2 separate regions of the Homo sapiens genome follow, and region 1 is linked to region 2. The links are contacts of gene promoters, found by promoter capture Hi-C in blood cells and fetal thymus (Javierre and others, 2016). All regions are on one chromosome and are shown on one strand. Each heading gives the region's core, a stretch centred on a gene start or on the middle of the fragment in contact. The rest is flanking DNA. Distances are from core to core; before and after follow the strand shown. Region 1 holds the start of H2AC14 (H2A clustered histone 14). Region 2 holds the start of H3C11 (H3 clustered histone 11).

Region 1 (5,570 bases), core at 2,840-5,339, 58 kb before region 2:
TCTAATAATGTCCGGCATTTTTCCGTAAGCATTGAGTGTAGCCAAAAGTTCCTTCGTGTATTGCTCTCCCATCTCCGCAGCCCGGTTTTGACCGGATGGTGCTTCTAATTTTCTGCTAACCTGTACTGTGGTGTGTGTATATTTCTTGCCAACACGCCAGAAATAAAACTAAGGTTGTACTGAAGTTGGAAAAATTCAGGTTAATGTAGCTCATGCTGGCTAAAGTGAAACGTTCTCTCCCCGCCCCCCGTTCCTAAGCAGTGTTAAGTTTTCTTTGAATTTTTTCAAGCCGGATTTTGGGCCTGCTTAAACCACTTAAATGTAGTTAATGACAGATGGTTTGAGGTTTAAAAGTCTTCTGGAGAAAGCCCGCCAGAGAACATTCCCTTTGAAGCCCCATGTAAAAATACGTGTGGGAGAGAAAGTGTTTTCTCTGACTTCTGCTGACAGTGGCTAAAACTCTGAACTGTCAGGAGTATTCAAAATAAGACTGCCTTGTAGGTAAGCCTGTGGTAGTTTTTTTGAGCACAGGATAAAATACTTGAGTCTTTGCTTAAATGTTACTTTCTCAATGAGGCTTTGTATGACTAAATAAAATCTGTATAATCCCCACCTATTTTTTTCACCCTAGAATTTGTCACTATATGCTGTACCAGAGTTTGCTGATGTATTGCTTGTGTGTTCTAAAATACAGGCTCATGAGAGGAGGAACTTTTGTTTACTCGCATATCTCCAGTAACGTAGGAGCTTTTGATCAGTATTTGTTGGATAAATGAATGAATGCATGGGTATATAATAGTAAGGAGACATACCCACATGGAAAATCTCAAATGAAAGAAATACATCAGCTTGGTAGATATGCTCAAATCAGCTTCTTGTGGGCCAGGAAAGCCCTTACCTCATCCATTCTTGTATTCAGAATGCTAGATTTCTATAACTTCTTCTGTGAGCTCTCTAGCATTCTTATAAGTATTCAAGATTTTCCCTGGCAAATTGGCTTGTGTATGTGTGTTATCATCTCTGTCTCTCCTTAGCTTAACCTGTGAAGGATGTAAGTGGAAAGATCATAGTATTTTTACACTGAGTTTTAAAAAGCAGTTTTAATTCTCTATCTTGTTTCAGTTGGCTATTTATGTATCTTCAGTTATTAGAATTGGTTACATTCTTAATACACTTTTTTGGAAATTTGATATCAAGATCACTACTGCAACATTCACAATCTGCTCATCCTCATTTTCTTGTGTGTGGGTTCATGATTTCATTATTTCCACATATATGGAATTTAGAAAGATAAATAATTTATGATTAATATTTTACAAATTAAAATAATGCTTTAATACTTTTAATTGGAATCAACACCGTAAGCAAAACAAAATAGAGTTTTTCCCCTCTCAGAAATTAGCTTTCTTCTGGAAAGGAAGATACACTATTTTGGAGGGAAGCAGTGCCTCTAGGACACTTAGGGGCCCAACTGCTAAACCGATGGATATTGTTGAGTGTGTAAATAGTGCATTCCTTCTTTCTGTGCTGGGAAACTAAGAGCTAGTAATAAATCAGGAAGGGCTCACACAGAGACTGCCTGGTATGTACTAATCAATACTCTTGCTGGCTGGGTAGGGCATCCTCTCCTGGAGATATGCAGCCAAGATACTCCCAGTTAAATTTCCAGTTATAATTACATGAGGAATTATTTATTTAAGGGACAGTGAGTAGTTCTAGTTATGTGGAAATGAATACTCTATGTCTTTTCAAAACACTCCATGTACTGAATTACAATAGTCTGGTAACCATCCAACTCAGCTCATTTGTCAGGAGTTCATGACCAGCCTGACCAACATGGTAAAACCCCGTCTTTACTAAAAATACAAAAAATTTAGCCAGGTGTGGTGGCATGTGCCTGTAGTCCCAGCTACTCTGGTGGCTGAGGCAGGAGAATCGCTTGAACTCGGGAGGTGGAGGTTGCTGTGAGCCGAGATCACGCCACTGCAGTTCAGCCTGGGCAACAGAGGGAGATTCCATCTCAAAAACACAAAACAAACAAAAAATAAATAAATTTAAAAAAAAGGACATAATTCTTGTGTCTGAATTTCCTGAGATGGCAAAACTCATAAGTGGCATAACAATCCTTTTCAAGGCCCAAAATAAAAGGACCTTGATATGCCCATACAGAAATATGGACAACAGGCCGGGCGCGGTGGCTCATGCCTGTAATCCAAGCACTTTGGGAGGCCGAGGCAGGTGGATCGCTTGAGTCCAGGAGTTGGAAACCAGCCTGGGCAATGTGGCGAAACCCCATCTCTCCAAAAAATAAAATTAGCCAAACGTGGTGGCGTGTGCCTGTGGTCCCAGATACTCAGGAGGCTGCGTTGGGAGAATCGCTTGTGTCCAGAAGTTGGAGGTTGCAATGAGCCGAGATCGTACCACTGTCCTCCAGCCTGGGTGACAAAGCGAGACCCTGTCTCAAAAAAAAAAAAAAAAAAAAAAAAAGATAACATGAGGAACTGACCTCACTATTCTCAAAATAGCCTTTGGCTTTTCTCAGAAGAGATATTTTTTTCTGAGTGTAGGTATTCACCCACTAGTGCTCTTGGAATCAATAAGTATTCAGAACCAACCTTACCATCGAACATCACCAGCTTGGACTACTATGCTTGGCCATCTACTTATCCAGCAGTTACTAAGTATTTAACTCACTTACTAATTGTAAGTGTTTACAGGATACATTTGTAACATAACACCCAGGTACAAAAAGGTTAATTACATACAGAATTAAACAGAAAAATATCAGAACACATACAATGAAGTTAACTATTATTAACATGTGATTTCAGCAGTACACTAACATAAATACATGTAATTATTGGGTCACTGCCGAACATGTATATGTTTGAAAGACCCTTAATTAGAAAACTTCTAAGGCCAATTTTTTTTTATTCCAAACTCTTGTAAGTGCAAAAATTAAAAATAGAAAACAAAACATGACCAATGTATACATTGGTAAACATAAAACTGTCTGGTTTTGTTTAAATATACCCATTGAGCAGCTCCTTTCCTAGAGGCCAGGAAATAGGGCTGAGGACTCTACCCTCAGTTTTCAATCTAGAGACTGTGAAACTGTAGAGAAACACACTGTCTAGTAGCAATCCATATACTTTTTCTAGTAAGCATATTAAAAACCGAATACTATACTATATTCCTTACAGCCCAGTGAGTTTCCCAGAATCATAAATAAAACCCACCAGTACCTACTATGTAACTCCCAGTAAGAGGCTTTGACTTTTGTCAAAGTTGTGTCCCAGTAAAATGCCTTCAAGATACCACAAACTGGCCTGGCGCAGTGGCTCACGCCTGTAATCCCAGCACTTTGGGAGGCCTAGGCGGGTGGATTACCTGAGGTCGAGTCAGAGACCAGCCTGGCCACCAAGGTAAAACCCCTGAAAACACGTGTTAGCAAACGTACCTTGTTAGTATCTACATTAAGAAAAAAAAAAAAAAAAAAAACCTTGAAATTCAGGCAATGTAAACAGGTTAAAGATTAACACCGAAACATCATGAGTGTACTGTGTAGTGGTGAAGCAGCTGAAAACGGACTCGTGTCATCTTTTTATGATTGTTGAAGTGGCTCTGAAAAGAGCCTTTGTTTTTATGCGCTTTTCAACTCGGTCTTTACTTAGTCTTGTGGTGGCTCTCAGTTTTCTTTGGCAGCAGCACGGCCTGGATGTTGGGCAGGACGCCACCCTGTGCGATGGTGACTTTGCCCAGAAGCTTGTTGAGCTCCTCATCGTTGCGGATGGCCAGCTGGAGGTGACGCGGGATGATGCGAGTCTTCTTGTTGTCGCGGGCCGCGTTGCCAGCCAGCTCCAGGATCTCGGCGGTCAGGTACTCCAGCACCGCCGCCAGGTACACCGGCGCTCCAGCACCGACCCGCTCCGCATAGTTGCCTTTGCGGAGCAGGCGATGCACTCGGCCTACGGGAAACTGAAGCCCGGCCCGAGAAGAGCGGGTCTTGGCCTTGGCGCGAGCTTTGCCTCCCTGCTTACCACGCCCAGACATGGCAAAAGGTCTATTACCTTTACGGTCAAGAAAGACTGAAATGAAATTGGAAAAACGTACATTTTATAGCCTCTACTGGGCGCGAAAAGGAAGCTGTGCGATTGGCTTACGTTTTATTTTTATTTAGACCAATAGGACTCGAGTATGCAGGATACCTATTTTGATTGGGCAAAACTGGCATCTGACGTCATCCACGGATAATCACCAATCAGCACTGACCTATTCTACTCCTAATTTGCATAATAACATTTAAATAAAGAGGACGAAACAGCCCTAAGGTTGTCTTTTATTTTGTTTTCCACCATGCCTGAACCAGTCAAATCTGCTCCAGTCCCTAAAAAAGGCTCCAAGAAGGCCATTAACAAGGCTCAGAAGAAGGATGGAAAGAAGCGCAAACGCAGCCGCAAGGAGAGCTACTCTGTGTATGTGTACAAGGTGCTGAAGCAGGTCCACCCCGACACCGGCATCTCTTCCAAGGCTATGGGAATCATGAACTCCTTCGTCAACGACATCTTTGAGCGTATCGCCGGAGAAGCGTCACGCCTGGCGCATTACAACAAGCGCTCGACCATCACTTCGAGGGAGATCCAGACGGCCGTGCGCCTACTGCTACCCGGGGAATTGGCCAAGCACGCCGTGTCCGAGGGCACCAAGGCCGTCACCAAGTATACCAGCTCCAAGTGAGCCTCTCGCTGCAGTAACAGTTCCGCCGTGACCCACACCCCAAAGGCTCTTTTCAGAGCCGTCCACGTTTCTCAAGAAAGAGCCAGTTCACTGTTAAGTTTGTCTCCCATTAGGTACCCTTTGGGACTCGCTTCGTACATATAAATGTACTTGTATATGTGGGTTTTTTTTTGTTTTTTGTTGTTGTTTTTGAGGTGTAGTCTCACTTTGTTGCCCACCCTGGAGTGCAATGGCACGATCTCGGTTCACTGCAATCTCCACCTTCCGGGTTCAAGCGATTCTTCTGCCTCAGCCTCTCGAGTAGGTGGGACCACAGGCATGTGGCACCAGGCCCTGCTACTTTTTGTATTTTTAGTAGATACGGGGTTTCACCACGTTGGCCAGACTGGTATCGAACTCCTGACCTTAGGTGGTCCACTTGCCTCGGCCTCCCAGTGTTGGGATCACAGGTGTGAGCCACTGCGCCCGGCCCAAAATATTTTAAAGAGGATTATTAGCAACTATGAGTGACCGTGGCTTAGGGAAGACACAATCCCCCGAGACCATGAGAAAGTGGTTCTGAGGCAGTCAGAATGCAACTGTTTTGTACATTTTAGGGAAGCAGAAGTTATAGGTAAAGTCATAAATAAATATGTGGAGGGTTAGTCCAGGCGTGGTGGCTCACGCCTGTAATCCCAGCACTCTGGGAGTCAGAGGCGGGCGGATCACTTGAGATCAGGAGTTTGAGACTAGCCTGGCCAACGTGGTGAAACCCCGTCTGTACTAAAAATACAAAAAATTAAACGGGTGCAGTGGCACGTGCCTGTAACACCAGCTTCTCGGGAGGCTGAGGC
Region 2 (6,372 bases), core at 1,805-4,304:
CAAGATCCTGTCTCGAAAAAGCAAACTAACTAAAAACTAAAGAGTGTGTGACAGAGACTATATATGGCCTTTAAACCCTAAGCTATTTATTACCTAGCCCTTTTGCTGTGTTATAAATTTCTCCACAGAGACACAGATATTGTATAGGCCTCTTACCGAACAATGCAAATTGAGAACTAAAGAAAAGGAGATCTTCATGAGCAAATGATCTAACCAAGCACTTTCCACTGTTCCAAACACAAAACTTAGAAGGTCCAGGAGAAAAAAACCCCAAAACTCCATGTGTAATGGAGCCAGGGTATAACAATAAGAGCTGACACTCATTCAGCATTTACTACCTGACAGGAAGTAATCTTAAATATGTTCTACAGGTTTCTATTAATTTGCTACATTTACAGCTATACAAGATGAGGCCCAGATAGAGAATTAATAACTTGTCAAAGGTTATACAGCTATGAAGTGGCAGCTCTAAATTTTAAACCTAGAAACATGGCCTCAGCTCTATTATGGAGGGAAAATCCTTGAAGAGGTGAGAAGAGAACTATCTTCAAAGCTTGGAAGAGGCAGTGTCAAGTTGTTCCTACACCTAGCAAACAGCCACTAAAAGAGCTCTAAGTTAATTGTGGGAAGAGGCTTCTGGCCCCATGGATCAAAAGTGTTTTTTTGTTGTTTGTTTTTCTGAATCAAATCTTAAGTTTCCAAAAACTTTATACCTGTATCCAACCCTTTGAATGTGAGGACTTTTTTGTTCATCTGTGATGGTGGATATCACAAAAATTATGCACAGACTTTTCTTTCTTTCCCTTCCTTCCTTTTTTTTTTTTTTTTTTTTTTTTGAGACAGAGTCTCACTCTGTCACCAGGACTGGAGTGCAGTAGCGTGATCTCGGCTCACTGCAACCTCAGCCTCCCAAGGAGCTGGGACTACAGGCGCCTGCCACTATGCCCAGCTAATTTTTTGTATTTTTAGTAGAGACGTGGCTTCACCATGTTGGCCAGGCTGGTCTGGAACTCCTGACCTCGTGATTCGCCCGCATCGGCCTCCCAAAATGCAAAGTGCTGGGATTACAGATGTGAGCCACTGCGCCCTTCCTTTTTCCTTCCTTCCTCCCTTCCTTCCTTCCTTCCTTTGTTTTCTTTCGTCAGCTATCTTTAGTGATCCTGTATTTTAGGTGTGGCCCAAGACAATTCTTCTTCCAACGTGGCCCAGGGAAGACAAAAGATCGGACACCGCTGCACCAGTTGCTGGGATACATGCCTCTTTGCAAGAGTGAATCCAATATGAGAAAGGAAGGCACAGATATGAGGCTGAGCTGGCTGAGAGCACTAGGGAGAAAAATTGCCTTCACATCTCTGCCAGATATCTCCTAGGTCAAGATGTGTGCTTCAAAAAGTTTAAGAGCAAAATGAGGTCATGATAGTCACATATGTAGAGCACATGAGGAAACTCTAAAACAGCTGGAAATAATGGAAAAGTTTGGTTAGAAACCAGGAAGAGCTTTAAAATACCACTTGAAGTTTAATACCCAGACTGATTCTCTCTGAAAAAAAAAAAGAAAGAAAAAATCTCATGAAAATCCAACTCCACAGTCTATGACAAGCATATGGTGAAATGACAGGAAAATATTTTTTAAGGTCCACTTAGAGCTAGAAGTTCATTTCATAGATGACAGCATGCAGTAGGTTAAAGTATCCCTCCTCAGAGGCCCACTACCTAACACATGGCTTGCTAAACATTACATTGAAACAGAACAAAAGTGTCGAGCTTTTTGTCAAAACTGTTACTTGCATGGGGTACGATGGCAACTTTGTTATGTGCATATGCTCCAAGGTGGTCAAGTTACATGGGCTATACAAGAGCTAAATAGCTTACATTGTACCAATTAAGTAACTTATCATTCATTCTTTCCTCCCTTCTGAGTCCTTATTGTCTATTGTTCCACTCTCATGTGTGTAGTTTTTAGAGCCTGTTGTTTTTTGTATTTTTGAGGCGGAGTCTCGCTCTGTAGCCCAGGCTGGAGGGCAGTGGCGCGATCTCGGCTCACTGCAACCTCTGCCTGCCAGGTTCAAGCGATCCTCCTGCCTCAGCCTCCCGAGTAGCTGGGACTACAGGCGCGTGCCACCACGGCCGGCAGTCTTTTTTTTAGTGGACAGGGGGGTTTCACCGTGTTAGCCAGGATGGTCTTGATCTCCTGACCTTGTGATCCGCCTGCCTCGGCCTCACCAGAGCCTGTGGACACTCATTGTGCTACTTGTTCCCTTCAGTAGGGGCAGGTAGATACGCAGGAGACACATTCCTCAAGGATAAAAACAGGAATACTTTTCAAAACTAAACTTCATCTGTAAAATTGACCCCATGACATGTCTTTTTTGAGTGATAATCCTTATCAGTAGGAACAGGTTCTGTATGTGAAATTGATTTAGCATACCAACAGCCTGTGACCTGACTCCTGCATTATAGTGTGTTGGGCCACTACCACGTTTTGTCCACAGCTTGTATTTAACATGGAGCTAAGACACGTCTCAAAAGCTACAGCTTCCTTTTGGTGACAATTGAGGGGCTCTGAAAAGAGCCTTTTGGGGTTGGACAGACTTCTTGGGCTGATAGGAATATTTATGCCCTCTCCCCTCGGATGCGGCGCGCAAGCTGGATGTCTTTAGGCATAATAGTGACGCGTTTGGCGTGAATGGCGCACAGGTTGGTATCCTCAAATAGCCCCACCAGGTAGGCCTCGCAAGCCTCCTGCAGCGCCATCACCGCCGAGCTCTGGAAGCGCAGATCGGTCTTAAAGTCCTGTGCGATCTCCCGTACCAAGCGCTGAAAAGGTAGCTTCCGGATTAGCAGCTCGGTCGACTTCTGGTAGCGGCGGATCTCGCGCAGGGCCACGGTGCCGGGGCGGTAGCGGTGGGGCTTCTTGACGCCACCGGTGGCCGGAGCGCTCTTGCGAGCCGCCTTGGTGGCCAGCTGCTTGCGCGGCGCTTTGCCGCCGGTGGACTTGCGAGCTGTTTGCTTTGTTCGTGCCATGGCTAAGTAGACGTACCTACTCAACACAAATGAGAGAAAAAAACTGATCATCCCGGTATTTATAGCTGCCCTCGCGTTCTGATTGGACAGTAGACTGTGCCATGCCACGTCTCACACACGGAATTGGCTCCCAGTTTAATCTGCTAGTGAAAGGGAGACATTCCGCCTCTGTTTTGGGTCAAGAAACGTAAAATGGTTTTGCTAGCTAAAGAAAAACAAAAACGGAAACAAAAAAAAATCCCCCAAAAGTCTAGGATTTTTCATGCATCAAAATCCTGTTTAAATATAAGCTTGATAAATCTAAACTTGCCTTGCACTATTTTAATTACGAGGTGTCATTACTGATTTGACAAAAAGTTAAAGAACGTAAAGGAAAAGTGAAACTAGAGTAAATTTGTAAATGGAGGCATTGAAGGGGATATGAAATTCGAGCGTTGTGGTATGCCAGTATTTCTCAAATTTAAACGTACTTAATGTTTTAGAAGTTGGCCGACTTTTTCTGTAAAGGGCGATATTAAAACATTTTGGGCGTTGCGGACCACAGTGTCATAGTTACACAGCCCTCGCATTGGTAGCGGTAAAGTAATCGATACAAGATAAATGAGACCGGCTGTTTCATTATGACTTTTGCAAAAACCAGAGAGGCGTTATAGATTTGGCCGTGTATCAGAGAAGCCGGCACTTTTAACCACTAAGTAATGCTGAAAGGGGCACCGAACCTCAAACTTCAGCGACTGCTTATGTGGAATCGCTAATTTGCCAAAACTGCCATACGTTTAAGTGTTCTTAAGAAATTAACTATCTTTAGTCTACAGCTCTTTCACAGACTTCATGGGTGGCCCTGAGAAGGGCCTTTGAGGAACCGTGTAAGTAAGTAAAACACTCAGCCGCCAAAGCCATACAGGGTGCGGCCCTGGCGCTTGAGCGCGTAAACCACGTCCATGGCTGTGACTGTCTTGCGTTTGGCGTGCTCCGTGTAGGTAACTGCATCGCGGATTACATTCTCCAAAAACACTTTAAGAACTCCGCGTGTCTCCTCGTATATAAGGCCTGAGATGCGCTTAACGCCTCCACGCCGTGCCAGGCGTCGGATGGCGGGCTTGGTGATGCCCTGAATGTTGTCGCGCAGAACTTTGCGGTGGCGCTTAGCGCCTCCTTTGCCCAGACCCTTCCCGCCTTTGCCGCGCCCAGACATGTCTTGTACTAAACAAAATGCAACACGGCAAGCCTCGCAGCAGTACTTTATATAGTAATAAATCGGACCTGATTGGGAACTCTCCACACCAGCTGCATCCGGTCGGCCGATTCACAGACCTTGCGCCCTGCCCACGACTTCAGGAAAAAATGGAAAAGGGGGTACTTAAACTCCAGTTTCTAAAAATGATGCCCAGTTAAAAATTACTCAGCTCATCTTGCCCTTCTACAGTGTTTTAGGCTGACCACCGCTGCATTCCATTGTCTGGGTCTTTGCAGCCTGTTTTTCCTGTCACCTCTTAGCATCGATTGTTCTAGTGCTTTGTGGCTGCTGGAATCAAATGGCGCCATCTCTAGAGGGGTAATCACAGTCGTTTCGGGCATTTGTGAAATAGCGTGTAGAAACTGCTTCCGTACAAACTCGAAGTGATCAGCCTATGGAGTGGCTGACTGCAAAAGACGACGCCTGATGATAGCTCCAAGGTGGGATTCCTCACCTTTCTCAAATTTGGTTCTCTATTCTTTTCCTTATATTTTACTCTTTCTGTAGCTGTCCTTTCTGTTCCTTTCTCTCCCTCGCCAACCACATTTTTGGGGCAAGAACTTTCTATTTTTTTTTCCTCATTCCACCTAGAAACACTTCAGGAAGCTGTTTGAGAAAGAAAGGTGGCTTTTACCCTGTATTTCCTTAGAATTGTGAAGGTGCCGCTTGAGCTCCCTCATGTTCCTCTTTTCTGTTGAACTAGGAAATCAGCTGTGCCCAGAAACCCTGTCTTTTACATTTACAAATAAAGTGCAGGAGGAAAAGACCGAGGATGACTTTATTCCAAGAAAAAGAGTTTCAAATGGCCGGACGCGGTGGCTCACGCCTGTAATCCCAGCCAGAAGGGAGGCCGATGCATGTGGATCACAAGGTCAGGAGTTCGAGACCAGCCTGGCTAAGATGGCGAAACCCCTTCTCTACTAAAAATAAAGAAAATTGGCCTGGCGTGGTGGAGGGCGCCCATAATCCCAGCTACTCAGGAGGTTGAGGCAAGAAAATCGCTTGAACGCAGAAGGCGGAGGTTGCAGTGAGCCAAGATCGAGCCCCTGCACTCCATGCACTCCAGCCTGGGCAACAAAGTAAGAGTCCGTCTCAAAAAAAAGTTTCAAATAAATGTTGTGTGACCTTCCTGACCTAGGCTGGCTCTGCCTTGCCCTGCCTTCCAGCTATCAGATTTCGTTTCTCAGTAATGTTTACCTTTTATATTTCAAATGTGTATGATTATTTACCTCTTTAGCAAATATCTAATTTTATTCTAAAAATCAGTCTCTGCAAGTACATTATGAACTACTCTATGATTACTGTATGTGCAAAACATTACATACTCATGTTGTAATAGTTAATCAGTTTCTCACTGAGCTAGGCTGGCCTCTTTTTCCTTTTTTTTTTTTTTTTTTTTTTTTTTTTGACAGAGTTTTGGTCTTGTCACCCCAGGCTGGAGTGCAATGGTGAGTTCTCTGCTCACTGCAATCTCCCCCTCACGGGTTCAAGCGATTCTCCGCCTCCCGGATTCAAGCGATTCTTCAGCCTTAGCCTCCTAAGTAGCTGGGATTAAAGGCACCCGCCACTACGCTCGGCTAATTTTTGTATTTTTAGTAGAGACGGGGTTTTGCCGTTTTGGCCAGGCTGGTCTCGAACTCCTGACCTCACGTGATCCGCCCACTTCGGCCTCCCAAAGTGCTGGGATTACAGGCGCGAGCCACTGCTCCCGGCCTTATTTTTTGTATTTGTAGTAGAGACGGGGTTTCAGCGTGTTAGCCTGGATGGTCCCTATCTCCTGACCTGGTGATCCACCCGCCTCGGCCACCCAAAGTGGTGGGATTACAAGCGTGAGCCATCGCGCCCGGCGATTAACCTCTTTTTTGTTATTAGTTCAGGCTGTGACCCTTATGGTCTCACAACTTCTGTACCCTACAGCATTGACATCTGTGTTTTTCAGAGGTGTAAATTTTTTTTTTTTTTTTTTTTTTTTTTTTTTGAGGCAGGCTCTTGGTCTGTCACCAAGGCTGGAGTGCGATCTTCCCACCTCAGCCTCCCCAGATCCTGGGACTACAGGTGTGAGCCACCACCCATTCCCGGCTAATTTTTGTACTTCTTGTAGAGATGGGGTT

What was found. The method cuts DNA at HindIII sites, captures the fragments that hold promoters and counts their contacts. A CHiCAGO score of 5 or more calls a contact.
Region 1: a contact is called between the fragment with the promoter of H2AC14 here and the fragment with the promoter of H3C11 in region 2, in 1 of 17 cell types (megakaryocytes). The highest score is 5.3, in megakaryocytes.

The regions. Positions count from the first base shown.
Region 1 is chr6:27,810,688-27,816,257 of GRCh38, forward strand. H2AC14 (H2A clustered histone 14) reads right to left here and starts at 4,090. Exons shown (of 1, transcript NM_021066.3): 1 at 3,615-4,090. The coding sequence starts at 4,053. The coding sequence ends at 3,667. It overlaps H2BC14 (H2B clustered histone 14), which reads left to right and starts at 4,335. Exons shown (of 1, transcript NM_003521.3): 1 at 4,335-4,802. The coding sequence starts at 4,357. The coding sequence ends at 4,737. RefSeq lists enhancers at 1-373, 3,724-3,873, 4,564-4,683, 4,794-4,853, 4,944-4,993. The HindIII fragment of the contact is 4,109 bases long and covers 3,764-5,570 here.
Region 2 is chr6:27,869,292-27,875,663 of GRCh38, forward strand. It overlaps H3C11 (H3 clustered histone 11), which reads right to left and starts at 3,055. Exons shown (of 1, transcript NM_003533.3): 1 at 2,554-3,055. The coding sequence starts at 3,024. The coding sequence ends at 2,614. H4C13 (H4 clustered histone 13) reads right to left here and starts at 4,243. Exons shown (of 1, transcript NM_003546.3): 1 at 3,857-4,243. The coding sequence starts at 4,219. The coding sequence ends at 3,908. RefSeq lists enhancers at 612-1,251, 1,252-1,889, 3,805-4,442, 3,874-3,923, 4,224-4,393 and 1 more. The HindIII fragment of the contact is 2,761 bases long and covers 552-3,312 here.